Regions from separate parts of the Homo sapiens genome. Here regions 2, 3 and 4 are each linked to region 1. The links are contacts of gene promoters, found by promoter capture Hi-C in blood cells and fetal thymus (Javierre and others, 2016). All regions are on one chromosome and are shown on one strand. The core of a region is centred on a gene start or on the middle of the fragment in contact, and the rest is flanking DNA. Distances in the headings are between cores, read along the strand shown.

Evidence for each region. Contacts are between HindIII fragments. The CHiCAGO score rates a contact against its expected background, and 5 or more counts as called.
Region 2: a contact is called between a fragment that was not itself captured here and the fragment with the promoter of COMMD3 in region 1, in 2 of 17 cell types (fetal thymus and neutrophils). The highest score is 5.6, in fetal thymus.
Region 3: a fragment that was not itself captured here is called in contact with the fragment with the promoter of COMMD3 in region 1 in 1 of 17 cell types (megakaryocytes); the score reaches 5.7 in megakaryocytes.
Region 4: a contact is called between a fragment that was not itself captured here and the fragment with the promoter of COMMD3 in region 1, in 1 of 17 cell types (activated CD4 T cells). The highest score is 5.5, in activated CD4 T cells.

Annotation. Positions count from the first base shown.
Region 1 is chr10:22,314,417-22,317,882 of GRCh38, reverse strand. COMMD3 (COMM domain containing 3) reads right to left here and starts at 1,495. Exons shown (of 8, transcript NM_012071.4): 1 at 1,327-1,495. The coding sequence starts at 1,465. COMMD3-BMI1 (COMMD3-BMI1 readthrough) reads right to left here and starts at 1,495. Exons shown (of 14, transcript NM_001204062.2): 1 at 1,327-1,495. The coding sequence starts at 1,465. RefSeq lists an enhancer at 948-1,247 and a silencer at 1,518-1,637. The HindIII fragment of the contact is 1,853 bases long and covers 949-2,801 here.
Region 2 is chr10:22,719,076-22,722,541 of GRCh38, reverse strand. No RefSeq gene overlaps it. Among named protein-coding and RNA genes, the nearest start is that of PIP4K2A, 6.2 kb to the right of the region's middle. The HindIII fragment of the contact is 830 bases long and covers 1,288-2,117 here.
Region 3 is chr10:21,976,141-21,979,606 of GRCh38, reverse strand. All of the region lies in intron 1 of DNAJC1 (DnaJ heat shock protein family (Hsp40) member C1), which reads left to right. Among named protein-coding and RNA genes, the nearest start is that of DNAJC1, 26 kb to the left of the region's middle. The HindIII fragment of the contact is 406 bases long and covers 1,548-1,953 here.
Region 4 is chr10:22,651,959-22,655,424 of GRCh38, reverse strand. All of the region lies in intron 1 of PIP4K2A (phosphatidylinositol-5-phosphate 4-kinase type 2 alpha), which reads left to right. Among named protein-coding and RNA genes, the nearest start is that of PIP4K2A, 61 kb to the left of the region's middle. RefSeq lists an enhancer at 1-11. The HindIII fragment of the contact is 9,843 bases long and covers 1-3,466 here.

The sequences.
Region 1 (3,466 bases), core at 246-2,745:
TAAAATAAATTAACTTCCAGTGATGCCTATGATAATAAATTCTTTACAGTCATGTTCCAAAAAGGATATTTTAATTTGGGTTTAAAAACCCTTTAACAAGATTAAAAACATCAACTATAAGGACAGTCAATTATAAGTAAATGAGATGAGCAACAAGATCAAGTGAAAAACAATAAAAAGAACACAACAAGAACTCTACTATTACTAGCTTCAATTAACTTATTTTGCCTTAATATTTTTACTATTAAAAAATATTATAGCCCCCAAAGAAAATATAACAATGCAATGGTCATTCTAACACTGGAGTAAATTCAAAGGAAAAACAAGATAAATATTTTACATTGTGTCAATTTTAGAATAAACTTCCATCCTAAAAATGATGAGTTTAGGGTAACCGGCTCCATGAACAAATACATCAAGGGGGTAGAAGGTAGGGCATGAGTTCAGAATATAAGATACAAATTTCAAAATTATATTAGTACTTTCAGGGTTTGACAGTCATTTTTTTTTTGAGATTAACCCAGGTGGTGGTTACTATTTTCGTTTAAGAACTTCCACTTTCATACTTTTTGTACAAGTGTTTAGTTCATGAAACTACAGAAAAAAAACAAAAATTTGAATTGTTGGGATATTTATATTTAAGAAAATCATCTAAAAGCGATCGGTCTTAAAATATGTCTTCAATCCATACTGACACTGCACCTCCGCAGTCACTGACCGGATCGCTTAAAAGACACTCGCATCCTGGTAACTGGGGCGGAACAAAGTATTGTGCATCATAGTTTAAGGTTCTAGGCGTAGAACCTGTGTAAACATGCTGAACTAGAGCGCTGGAGTGATCATAGCAACTTGAGGTATGCTCTAAGTTGGCAAATGTCAACACTGTCTGACCTAGTAATTACTTCGGAAACAGACCCTTAAACCTTTGCTAGCCTAGCCCTGGAAGCTTGAATTGCAGGGAGCTCCCCAGATGAAGTCCAACTGTCAAAACAGCCGCAGCCTCAGACAAGGCTAAACACCTTAGATGTTTAGGCCACAAACAAGACTTGAACACCGGCTTTACAAAAGAACAAAGAGACTGGGAGGGAAACCGGGCCAGGAACGTGGAGTTGGCTCTATGCAGGTGCCAAGTGGGGCCAAAACAATGCTCAGAGTCTGCTCCGAGTCCTGGCAGAGCCACGTCCCCAACACTCCGTCCGGAGCGAAGGGCAAAGCCCGGAGACTTCCTCTTCCCGGGGCTTTCCCCTTCTCGCTCCGCCGGCTCCTCTTCTCCGAGCGCCCCTCCACCCCGGCGGATCCAGCTCCGAGCCGAGCCGAGCGGCTTACCTAACACGGCCTCGTCCGCCTGGGCGTCCAGCAGACTCTGGAATGCCGCCCGGAGGAGAAGCGTGAAGGCGTTGGAGTCGAAGGAGCGGGGATCCGCCAGCATCTGGAAGCCTTTCTGCACAGACTCCGAGAGCTCCATTGTGAGCGCGCCGTGACCTTCGACACGCACACCACGTGACACGCGCCGCGCGCTCAGCTGATGCGGCCGCGCGCGCACGCGGCTCGGGGCGGCTGGCGGCGGCGCGGGCTGCGGGGCCTCCCCGCCCGCCTCCGCGCCCGCGCGCGGGTCCCGCGCCCCCAGCCGCCGCCTACGGCCTCCCACCGTTTCCGTCCAGCTCTCGCTTGTCCAGCGCAGGCCGCGGGAGCTGCCGAGCCTTGGCGAGAAGGGCGGCCTCGGGCGTTTTGTGGACGCGCTCGGCGCTTTCTCCTTGGTTCGGCGCTTACCTCGGACGGCCACCAGCTCGGTTCCCTGAGAGACCCCGGGGAGACTGCGGACGGTGTCGGGATCCCGGCCCCCGCCTCCCGCAAACGGCGTCCTCCCCGCTCCTCGCTCTGCGCGAATCCTGCGGGAAGCTCCGATCTCAGGCAACTGGATTTTGCTTTTGTGGTTTTTTGTTTGTTTTGTTTGTTTTTTAGCTCACCAGCTTAACCTCGCAGCACTGCCCTTTTATGAGACTGTAAGACATCTAATTATGTGATTCTTGCTTATTTTTACTTTTTTTTTTTTGTCATTTCTGGAATACGGCAGTAGTGTCCTTCCTGCATGGGGGGTGTGTACACATGCACGCATACATAGAGTTCCTGTATGCACTGCACTCCAGCAATCGGATTAATAAATTATTCATGAACAGATTTGACAGGATTATTAACAATTTTATATGCCGCTGCAAATAAAGCCAACTGCCATACACATTTTGTGCTACTCACCACATCTATGGGTCCCGTTTTAGTTGCTCTATAGAATCTGCATAAATACGTTTTTATTAAACAGCTACCTTAGTAAAGTACAGTTAGGAATGGCAAGATCTTTATTAGAAGTGAGTTACTGTTTAGGATGCTCATACCTTTAAAGATTCAAATACTGTATAAAGTTTAACTTCCTCTCTATTTCTACGAAGTTGGTTTAGAGAACAAGAATGATTCTTTAAAAAACCCGTGAAGCAAAGTAGATTAGGTATTTTTAATCAAAAGCACTTGAAAAGTTAAAAAATGCAAGTTCTTGAAGGGTGGAGGGAAGGGATGCGGAACAACAAAGATGTTTTAGTCTTCAGGAGCGATTATTTGCAACATTAGACCCAAAGTGAAACATTATTTTCTTTTTCTAACTTAGATGTCTGTTTTAAAAATTTTTGATGGATACAGTTGACATTTACCTTGGCACCAATACATAAAGTGTACCTCATTTCACAACAGGATGCAAATGGAGTAAGCATCAGTAACAGATTGAGTAACTACTCAGCCCTCCTTTGAAAGCTTTAAAAGGCACGTGCAGTGGCTCCTCACTCGGTGAGAATATAGTAGCAGTGAAGGATTTAAAAGTCTCCCTAGAGTCTTTATGAAACAAGCACCTATTAATCATGTTCATCTTTTCTTCCCATCACTCATCTTCCTAATTTGTTTCTCATTAGTAGTAAAATGTCAGTTGAAAAACTTCATGATACCTGATTACATAGAGAATAGTCAGGACAGAGTTGTGTAAATGTTCAACAATATTAACAACACCCAAGCTTATTATGTTTATTACACATGTATTTTATGACCTAGTGTAACGTTGATTATTAATACTCTAATAGAATTTGAGTTGATAACTCTAATACTCAATTTAGTGTCAAAAAAGAGAGTATTAATCATGGACATAGATTTTAAAATATTATTTTAAAAGAAAAATAAACACAAGTGGTTGTCAATTTGTGGGCATGAAAGTTAGGAAATTCAGAAGGATTGTTTCCATAATAGCTGTCATATTACTTTGTTGCCCATGTATAAGTACTTTCTCTTAGAATGTTTCCTCCTCTTAGGCCTAAGTATATTCATGTGTTAGGCCTAAGTGATGGGCACATTTTAAGCTCACAAAAATTTTCACCATAATGTGTTCTAATGCTAGAAAAACGGAATTTTCCTACTACAGGTATATTTATTT
Region 2 (3,466 bases), core at 453-2,952, 400 kb before region 1:
ATTTTTGGAGGCTCCAACCCTTCAGCGTATCAAACATATGAAAATGCATTCACAGTCCACATTTAATTCAACGTTTTTGCTGTAAAATAAATTAGAAAAGATTTTTATAATTTTGCTCTAAAAATGTTTAGCTATGCCTTTTTTTTTTTTTTTTTTTTGGAGATTCAGAATCTCAATCCACCCAGACTAGAGTGCCACTGATCACAGTTCACTGCAGCCTCAATCTCCCAGGCTCAAGTGATCTTCCCACCTCAGTCCCTCGAGTAGCTGGGACCACAGGCACACACCACTATGACTGGATAATGTTTTATTTTTTATAGAGGCAGGGTCTCCCTATGTTGCCCAGGCTGGTCTCTAACTCCTAGGCTCAAGCAATCCTACCACCTCAACCTCTTAAAGTGCTGGGATTACAGGCATGAATCACCACGTCCAGCCAAACATTTAATTTTTGATTGACTATTTACTATCTTTTTTATCAATCATTATGCATACTTGTAACATAAGAAAAGCTAACTCACAAATTCTTTATATACGTAATGACTTTTTAAATACTAAATTTAAATTTAATAAATGGCAACATTTAGTCAAATGTTATTATTGATATCACTTTTGCAGTTTTCTTTTGTAATCAAAATTTTTGTTTTCACATCTCAAATTTTTTCTAGGTCCCCGAAAAACGCATAGGCTGTATGCATTGGGAAGATGATGCCCAATGGGTAAACAATTTGTAAACTTGCATAAGGACTCTTTGCGAACACAGGAGGTTCCCTTTTTCCTACATATAGGAAAATGTTCACCACAGGCTTAGTTCGCCATTGCCTAAATCATACAACGACTATTATAAATAGCAAGGAGCAAGTGAAAATGCTGGTCTCTTATTGGAATTGGGTTAGTATGTTAAATGACATTACTGTGTTACTTATTTAACTAGGAAAGATAGTTGCATTAAAAAAATTATAAAAGTAACACGTATGCATCTTATAACATTTGGAAAATGCAGAAATATATTTTAAAAATCATCCATAATCCTAACTGCACCCCTGATATAGCACTGTCAAAAGTATGCTCTGTTTTCTTTCAGTGTTTTACATGCACACACATTTTATAATACACTTTTTACTTTTTAAAAATTTTTAATTTTTATTTTGTAAAGATAGGGCCTTGCTGTGTTGCCCAGGCTGGTCTTGAACTCCTGGCCTCAAGAGAGCCTTCCACCATGGCCCCCTAAAGTGCAGAGATTATAGGTGTTAGTGCTATTTGGAAGCTTTGTGCTTTTTAAAAAAAGCTTTGTGCTATTAAAACCATAGCATATATATGATATGTATCCTATTTTTTCACTTATATTAATATCATGATTATTTTATGTCATTACATTTTCTGTGAAAATATCATGTTTATTGGATGCATTATATCCTGCCATGTGATCTCCCAATGTTGAAATTTCCATTTCTATAATAAAGAAAACTTTCATATATATATAAAGATATATATGATCAAGATATAATGTCCTTCACACAGCTTCCTGTCTTCCAGCGGGGGAGGCTAGCTCAAGTTCTCATGTTGCTGCTTGGGGAGTGGAGAAGGTGGGGTGGTCTGGGGAATGGTTAGTCTGCGCATTACCTGCTTTTTACTCCATCTTCTCCCAGTCCAATCTCCCCAAGTCAGGCTAACCAGACAGGAGTCAACTAACTGGTAGATTCCTGGAATGGCTGCCACTGTCCAGGAAGTCCCAGCCAGCTACAGAAGCCAGAAGAATCACCATCGATATTTAAATTGGAGTGGAAAACCCCAACTGGCTGGCACCAAACCACAGCCAGTCCAGGAAGTTTAGCCAGACCCCTGGAACTCCCAGAAAGCAAGCTGTGCTGCATCATGTCAATAGCTTATCCCCCCAAAAGTAACTCACTTGTCACAGTTGAATTTTTAGAGCCCATTTATTGCATTTGTAGCTTACTTATTGCCTTTTGGCTAGATTTGACAGCTTATGCACTTTAAGAATGGTCTTCCAACATAATAATTTTGCATGGCAAAGCTCAAGGTGACATTGTAGAAGGATGAATGGAATTGTCTCACATCTTGCTCTGATCTTTTCATAAAGCAAGGAAAAGCACAAAGCTTCCAAATAGCACTAAGTCAAAAAAGCTACCACTTCCCTTTTCTCAAGGAAGAATTGGAATTATTCGATTGATAGTATTTTTTTATTAAAAAGGGTAATATAAAAAATCAGAGCATCTACCCTATTCGACCTCTACTTCTGGTCTTGTATACCTTAGGCAACATAATATTTACACCATGTAGTTTTATACTAAATAAAGTTATTTATACTAAATAAAGATACTAAATAAAGTTGATTATAGTAAATGTAAGCAAAAACAAAACCACAACAACAAGAAGCATAAACAAGTCAGTATTGGGGGCTGGGCACAGTGGTTCACGCCTATAATCCCATCACTTCGGGAGGCGAAGGACGGGGATCACTTGAGGCCAAGAGTTCCAGACCAGCCTGGGCAACACAGTGAGACCTTGTCTCTACAAAAAAATACAAAAATTAGCTGGGCATGGTGGTGTGCACCTGTAGTCCCAGCTATTAGGGAGGTGGGAGGCAAGAGGATCACTTGAGCCCAGGAGGTTGAGGTTGCCATGAGCCATGATTATGCCACTGCACTCCAGCCTGGGGCACAGAGTGAGACCCTATCTCAGAAATAAATAAATAAATAAATAAATAAATAAATAAATAAATAAAACCAAGTCAGTATTGGGAACGTTTTAAATCTTCTTGACATGTCCTTCTTTCTTCTTAGTGAACTTGGCTGCTGGAGCCTTTCTTCCATTTGTGATGGCTTTGCCATCTGGATGTGTAACATCCCACCAGGCCAAATGCAAAAGGATGTGGCTGTTGAGGAGGGCATGGCATTCTTCTTGACTGACACAACCACATGCTCTTCTTGAAGTCACACTCCCTTGATCTTCCTCCTAGAGAAGGAAGATCTATGCCTCTCTTCCAGACCTTTGGCGAATGTTGATGGTTTGGCAGCTTGACAAGGTAAGCAGCTTGAACCAGGTGGGCTGAACCAAGAACAAGCAGGACATACACTTTGTCTCATTAGCATGCAAACCCCAAAGGAAAACAGCGATCAAATTGCTAGGTGGCTAAGTCCGCATGTAGTATCTAGCCCTCGAGTTTAAATATTATGTCTAGCCTAATTTCCTAACAAAGTATTTCTGAATGGAACCTTGCACAAAACATTTTCTGGCTACGCAAACTTTACATGTAACTTTGTTATGAGAGATAAAATATTCCTTTTTTCTTTATTCACCAAAATTTCACCACGGGTGCTATGGGAAAGGGAGTATTCAGGGTTCACTGAGACGCCCTAGAAGTGGGTACACCATGGTCCTTGCCTTCAAAGTTTCTTATTGCCCAAGAAATTACTTATTACATTTCTCTAGATATCAATTGTCTATC
Region 3 (3,466 bases), core at 501-3,000, 340 kb after region 1:
CCACTGTAAAACCATATATGGCTTCATATTCTGCAAAGTCACACCCTAAAAATAACAGTACCTATGGGAAAAATAGGGTTGAGGTACAGCGTTCAAAATCTGTGGAACCTTATAAGCACTCATGAAAATAATAATACTTTAAAAAATCAATTAAATCTCCTCTAGCATTTTAACCTGGCATCATAGTTCTTAAAATCCTTTAAACCCTTGTTCTCATGCTTCCTTATTTGGGATATAGATTCTTTAGATCAGTTGAATAAAAATACATATGATTCAGATAAGAGCCCTTTTGAAAATGAAGGAAATGTCTTTGCAGCTTCTTGAGCTGCACTCAGAGATTGATCAGATAGCTTTACATAGTAGAAACCATAGAAGTTCTTGAAGCCACAAAACCAGCTACTACTTATATTAATAGAAGGCACGTCTAATAGATTTCTAGCTGGTTTTTTTTAAAAGATCTTCATATTTTACTAAGGTTTTGTCTTTAATTGCAAGAAAACTTATCTTGGATCATTAAAAAAAAATGAATGTGCCAGGGGAAAAAAAAATCAAGTCGAACTTACATACCTAACTCTGCATTATAAGAATATCATTCCGCTGTTTACTAATTGTATATAAGATCATTCAAATTAAAAAAGTCATAGAGGTAATTAATCTGTAATAATCTGAGTAACCGATTACACCTCAGTGACAGTGTGTTTAGCCAGAGTCGGTATTTCCTATATATGTATTTTTTATAGCCTTAGATGTTTCTGATAACATTGTATAAACATATCACTTACTGAATTTACAGACTCTGAATAAATGGTGGCTTCATGATACAGTTTTTAAAAGTATTTTTACCTTAGGATTCTTGGGTCTTGTATCAGCTCTTGTGGGAAGTTTGTGTATGTTTCCAGTCTTTTCCCTCTTTTTCCTGTGACTCATTCTACTTCTTCATCTACTTTAGTAGTCACTAGCACTGCCAGGTTTTGTGGAATCTTTGACAGAAATGTAGGATTCCTGCCTTTTACATACAGGAAATAATTTGATAGTATTGGAAGACAAAATGTAATCAACTGATAGACTGCCACATGTTGTCTGTAAATACTAGGCCTGTGTGTGCTATTCCCTAGCATTGTCTGGCTTTACTGAAAGCACTTCAAGCTTAAGAAATTGCTGACCCCTGTCTTACTAGGTTCTGAGCCAATCTTTTCACTTGCTAATCGACTTTCCCACTTTACTGAAAGGAGAGGCTTTCAAATTCTATACTTTATCAGTGTATTAGTTCTACAAAATGTTGCTTCAAGAAATAATGGAAATTCTTAAAGAGTTTGCATGTTGTTGCATGTTTCTCTCTCCCTCTGTTCAAATTTCCCTCTTGATGGAGATGTGCTTCTGGGTGACTGGTTGCCAGGAACTTTTATGTTCATAAGTACTTTTTGAATATTGTATTACCTATTTAAAAAGTTAAGAAAAATCTATATATATTTGGATGATGAGGAATGAGATAGATGGAAGAACTTGTGAGGAGTGAAAGAGCTTTAGGAAGAGAAACTATTGAAGCTTATCTAAATTACAAAATAAGTCAAATGCTCCTATATAAAAAACAGACATTCTTATTGTTAAAAAACTTTTTGCTGTTAAATATCATCTAAATATTGGTTTGATGTACAAATGTAGAAAAATATCTTGGGCATAGATTTTTTTTCCCTTGTCACTTTGAAAAGAAATTTACTTATTATTTTTCTGTAGGTTTTTCAAAGAATTTTTATATTAGACAATCACATCAGCTTTCCAAAAGAGAGAAAACACTGATTAGGAACCCTCACTATCCAGGTGGGGAAGTGGGGATTTAAAATAATATAATGTTCATATGCAGGGTTGCACTATAACATAAGCCTCCTGACTCTTAACTTAAATATGTATTGGATGTGTTAAGATGTTTTTCTTTTATTTAATGTGAAAAAAGCTTAATAATTGACTGTTGGCGCCTGGGCATGTATATTTTGGTCCCCTGCACTGGGAATCAATTCTAAACTCAAGTTCAAAATTGGCTTCTGGAATTAGGGTGTTCAGCCTATAAATAGAGAGATATCTGTACTTCTTTAAGCCACACAAGTCTTTTCTTGGGTTTAGTTAGTAATTACTACTTTGGGAAATTATTTCTCCTTTAGAGTTGTTATTTTGATTCATATTTTAGTTCACGTGGATGTCTACAAAATAAGGAGTAAATTCTTGAAGAAAACCTGCTAATAGTTGTTTTATAGAAACTGAGCTTTGTAGATTAATTAGACTATCTAAATTGCAGCTTTTAGCTACATAATAAAAGTTTACTTGCATAGTCATTTTGTGTGTGTGTGTGTGTTTTTTTCATTTCTTAAGTGTGGTAGTTTTCTTTTTAAAAAATTGCTAAGATAAGGTCTTGAATGTTGTTCTGGTATTTAAGTACTGAGTCCTAGGATTCTACTTTTGTGTTTGTGAGAATTGCCGGGAGAGTAAGAGGCCAGCAGTGTGAGTGTCCACCATGTTCTCTACCTACGTACAAAGAAGCCTTAGTATGCTCTGACTCATTGATGAGAGCAAATTGGAGACTGTCACTGCTTTTTGCTTCTGTTGCTTACCATTGGCCCCATTGCCCCTTTACTGATGCTACTTGTTTTGATTGGTTGCTTTTGCAATGTTTGTGCTGTTGTTGTTACGGAAGAAAAGAGAAATAGGGGAGCCTAGTGGGTGGGCCGGCGGCATTCAAGAAGACTTAGAGAAAGGCAGAAGCTGCAGTGTTTGTCTCTTCCTCCACTGATTTTAACATGGCCACAGGAGTCATTAAACATAGCCTCTGTAGCATAAGGAAGGCAGAATTCTCTAGCTCGTTTGCGTTTTGTTGCTTAGTGGGAAGAGCTGAGAAAAAAAACAGAACTGGAAAACATCGCTTACTCCTAAAATGCAAGGGTAACCTTTTCAGACTTCTGTTGATTTTTGATGGGTTAAGAAATACAGTATGTACATATTCCTTTTAACTCTCCCCCACTAATATGGTCTGTTGGCATTTTCCTATTATTTGACTAGCGTCTTAGGAATTATTACTACAAAGATTCAGTGACAAATAACTGGCCAGAAGAAGATGTGGCATGTAATTTCAGATGACAGTGGGATGATGTTGGTACTTTCAGGACCTGTGGGTAGTAGGGAAAAGACAGTGTAACAGTTAATAAATGTTTGTATGGATTGCCTTAGTTTACGACTGAACAATCACATGCTTTTATTATTGGCCCTACCTCATAGAATCAAAGCCTTTTACATATGCCAACATTTTACAATATGTTCATTACCAAATGTTGCATGCCTGGTTGGTATATACTTTTCTAGATTTTGTAGGCTATGTAAAAATTTGATCCTGGTTCTCAAATATGGATAAAGAAGATACATGACTGTATTTTGGAATCAGGAAGATGAATACAGTTTCCAGCAATAAATCTATTACTGT
Region 4 (3,466 bases), core at 491-2,990, 340 kb before region 1:
AGAAACATAAATTACCATGGTTCTGGAAGGCAGGGCAGCAGTCACAAACAGACCTCCACCTCCTGCCGAGGGCTCCAGCTCTGAAGATCTCATCTTGTGCATGGCTGCATAGACAGGGATCGGTGCCTGTTACACTGGGTTAAGAGCTTCAGCTTTTCTTAAAAATCTTCAGACCTCTGCCTTAGAGATGGTATTTTGCAAAGTGTTTCAATTGAGTCAAATTGTTATTTTTCCACCTGGTGGTATCCCAGGGCTTCTATCAATTTACCTTGTGTATGTCCTCTGTCCTGCCTCTTGAGGCACAATTTCCTTTTTCCATTTTCATTTTTAAATTTTAAATTTTCTTTTTTAGAGACAGAGTCTCACTTTGTTGCCCAGGCTGGTCTCAAACTCCTGGCCCCAGGTGGTCCTCCCTCCTTGGCCTTCTAAAGTAGGGATTATAGGTGTGAGCCACCCTCCTGGTGCACTGTTTTTTCAGTCCACTCATTTCTGTCCCCTGCATTTTCCTTGGGTAAAGCCCCAGGCCCACTTTTGCCGTAGCCTTCTTTGATTTGCTTTAATTTGAACTTTCACAGGTAAAACCTTTCATAGGTTTCAAAGCAGTCGCACACATCTCATTTGCTGCCTTGAGATATAGCTGGATGATGCCATCATCCCTATTAAAATATGTGAGGGGAGGGCTCAGAGGTGTTAACTGCCCAGAATTATACAACCCTGGTCTCCCAACTCCAGCTTGCAGGGCTTCCCCACCATGACCAGCAGCTGGACCAGACCCTTTCTTGGGAATGCACACTTGACTACCCCTGAATCACTTTAAAACTCACCTGTCTCTGAAGACATTGTTTCTCAGCGACAGCTTCACTAGCACTGTTTGGTCTTATTAACCCCTTTCCCTTCTGTTGCCCTTTTGATCCTGAAATCTTAGCCCATGTTAAGAACGCCTTTCACAGATGTCGTTGTTACTAAGATTCTCCAATTTTTAGCTTTTTGTACTTACGATTTGGATCATTTGCCCACTCTGAGTATCTATTTTTACACGTCTTTTTTTTCTCCACACATGGTAAATTCTTGGAAAGTGAGAGCTGTGTTTTTCATTTCCTTAATAGTGGATATTTCTGCTAGGGGGAAGTTTAATCTGAGTGAGTGTCCAGCTCACCTTGAGGAAATAAAATAATTCAACCTTGAATATTTTCATAGCATTTTTAAAAATTATGAGATTAAATTTTCCTGAAAAATTTACGGAAACATGTGTTTTTCAAAATTAAGTTGGAAATATTAATGGCCTTGGGCATCTGCGGCCAGCAAAGTCATTGCCATTCCAGAACCCCTCACTGCAGGGTTTCCTTTCGTCCATTTATTAAATCTAAGCCCCATAGTGAGGAGAGACACTGCTGCACTCACCAAAAAACCACTGTTTATAAAATGCTTGGGCACTTCAGAGACAGCAGCTGTTTTCTCTTGGTATTAACACCGATCTGCAGATTGCCAGTTCTTCAGAATACAGACCTTTCCCAAATCTCCACTAATTTTGTTTATTTATTTATTTATTTTGAGATGGAGTCTCACTCTGTTGCCCAGGCTGGAGTGCAGTGGCGCAATCTTGGCTCACTGCAACCTCCGCCTTCTGGATTCATGCGATTCTCCTGCCTCAGCCTCCGAGTAGCTGGGATTACAGTAGAGACAGGATTTCGCCATGCCGGCCAGGCTGGTCTCGAACTCCTGGCCTCAAGTGATCCACCCACCTCAGCCTCCCGAAGTGCTGGGATTACAGGGGTGAGCCACCATGCCCGATCCCAAATCTCCACTAACTTTAGGTGCGTAGGATGGACTGAGCAATTTTGGAAATTCCAAAGCACCAGGGCCCTACCTCCTTTCTTCTGTCTGCCTCCCCTGCCTTCCCAGTGTGCATCTGCTGAATTGAATCATTAAGAGAAAGATTAAGATGAGTGGAAGGTGAGCCTGTTGTTGCTGACAGTTCACTTTCCCCAGTGAAACTGTCAGGAAGACAAAGAGATGTTGAAGTTTTAGAGTAAGTGGCCCAGGGTCTTACGGTATCCTGCAGTGTGACACTGGGTAGAAAGAGGTGGAGGAGAAGGAAGGAAGTGGCCTGGCTTGGCTGTCATGCACTGCCTTCCTTCATTTCCTTACCTCCCACGTACTGCCCCCCACCTGAGGCAAGAGGGGAGGAGTTTTCACCTTTTCCATATCTTCTTCTTTATTCTTTGAAACTATTTTTCTTCTTAGAGTTGTCTTTGGTAGAGTGGCCCTTAACTTAGTGTACAGTATGATTCATACCCCCGGGGGTGGTCCTTTCTCATAAACCCTTCTTTCTTTTTTTTGAGATACTCTGTTGCCCAGACCGGAGTGCAGCAGCACCATCATAGCTCACTGCAACCTCAAACTTACGGGCTCGAGCCATCCTCCCACATCAGCCTCCTGAGCAGCTCAGACTGAAGGTGTGTACCACCACTCTCAGCTTATTTTTGTGGTTTTGTGGAGATGGGGGTCTCATTATGTTACTCAGGCTGGTCTCAAACTACTGGGCTCGAGTGATCCTCAAGCCTCAGCCTCCCAAAGCTCTGGGCTTGTAGGCGTGAGCCACTGCGATGGACCCTTCATAAACGTTTCAAGCAGCATTGAACCAGAACAAGGAGCAGCGTTTTCAGTTGGGAATTCATTGTGTATTTTTCATTAAGAACATAACATTTCTTAACTTAGATGTTTGTGTAACCTGAGTTGCAAGATGAATTTACCACACAGTGACAGACTTTAAATTTTTGGTTTTAATACACATTTGCGTATTTTAAAAGCAAATGTACCTTCAGCCTGTGAAATAATATGCTAGATAATTACAGGTACTTTGACTTCAGTTATGTCTTAGATTTATTATAACTACAGTGTTGATTACTACGAAGACATTGCTTTGCAGAGGGAGATGTCTCAAAATGTCACAATTCAGTGTTTTATTATCAGACAGTTGCTAAAGTGGATAGTTAAAAATTGAGGCCTGGCATGGTGGCTCACACTTGTAATCCCTGTACTTTGGGAGGATGAGGCAGGCGGATCACTTGAGGTCAGGAGTTCAATACCAGCCTGGGCAACATGGTGAAACCCTGTCTCTACTAAAAATACCAAAAAAATAGGCATGGTGGTGCGCACCTGTAGTCCCAGCTACTCGGGAGACTGAGGCAGGAGAATCGCTTGGCTTGAACCTAGGAGGCAGAGGTTGCAGTGAGCCAAGACCATGCCGCTGCACTCCAGCCTGGGTGACAGAGTAAGAGTCTGTCTCAAAAAAAAAAAAATTTGTGTGCAGTTTTTCAGTTATTTCATGACTATTAGTGGTTATTCAACACAAATTAAGCACTGTATCAGTTACAGGGCTCAGTTAAATAATACAGAATCTACAGGAGCTGATTTAGATAGCAAGGCATTAAATGTACTAGTGAGTATTAATAGTGGCTCAGTC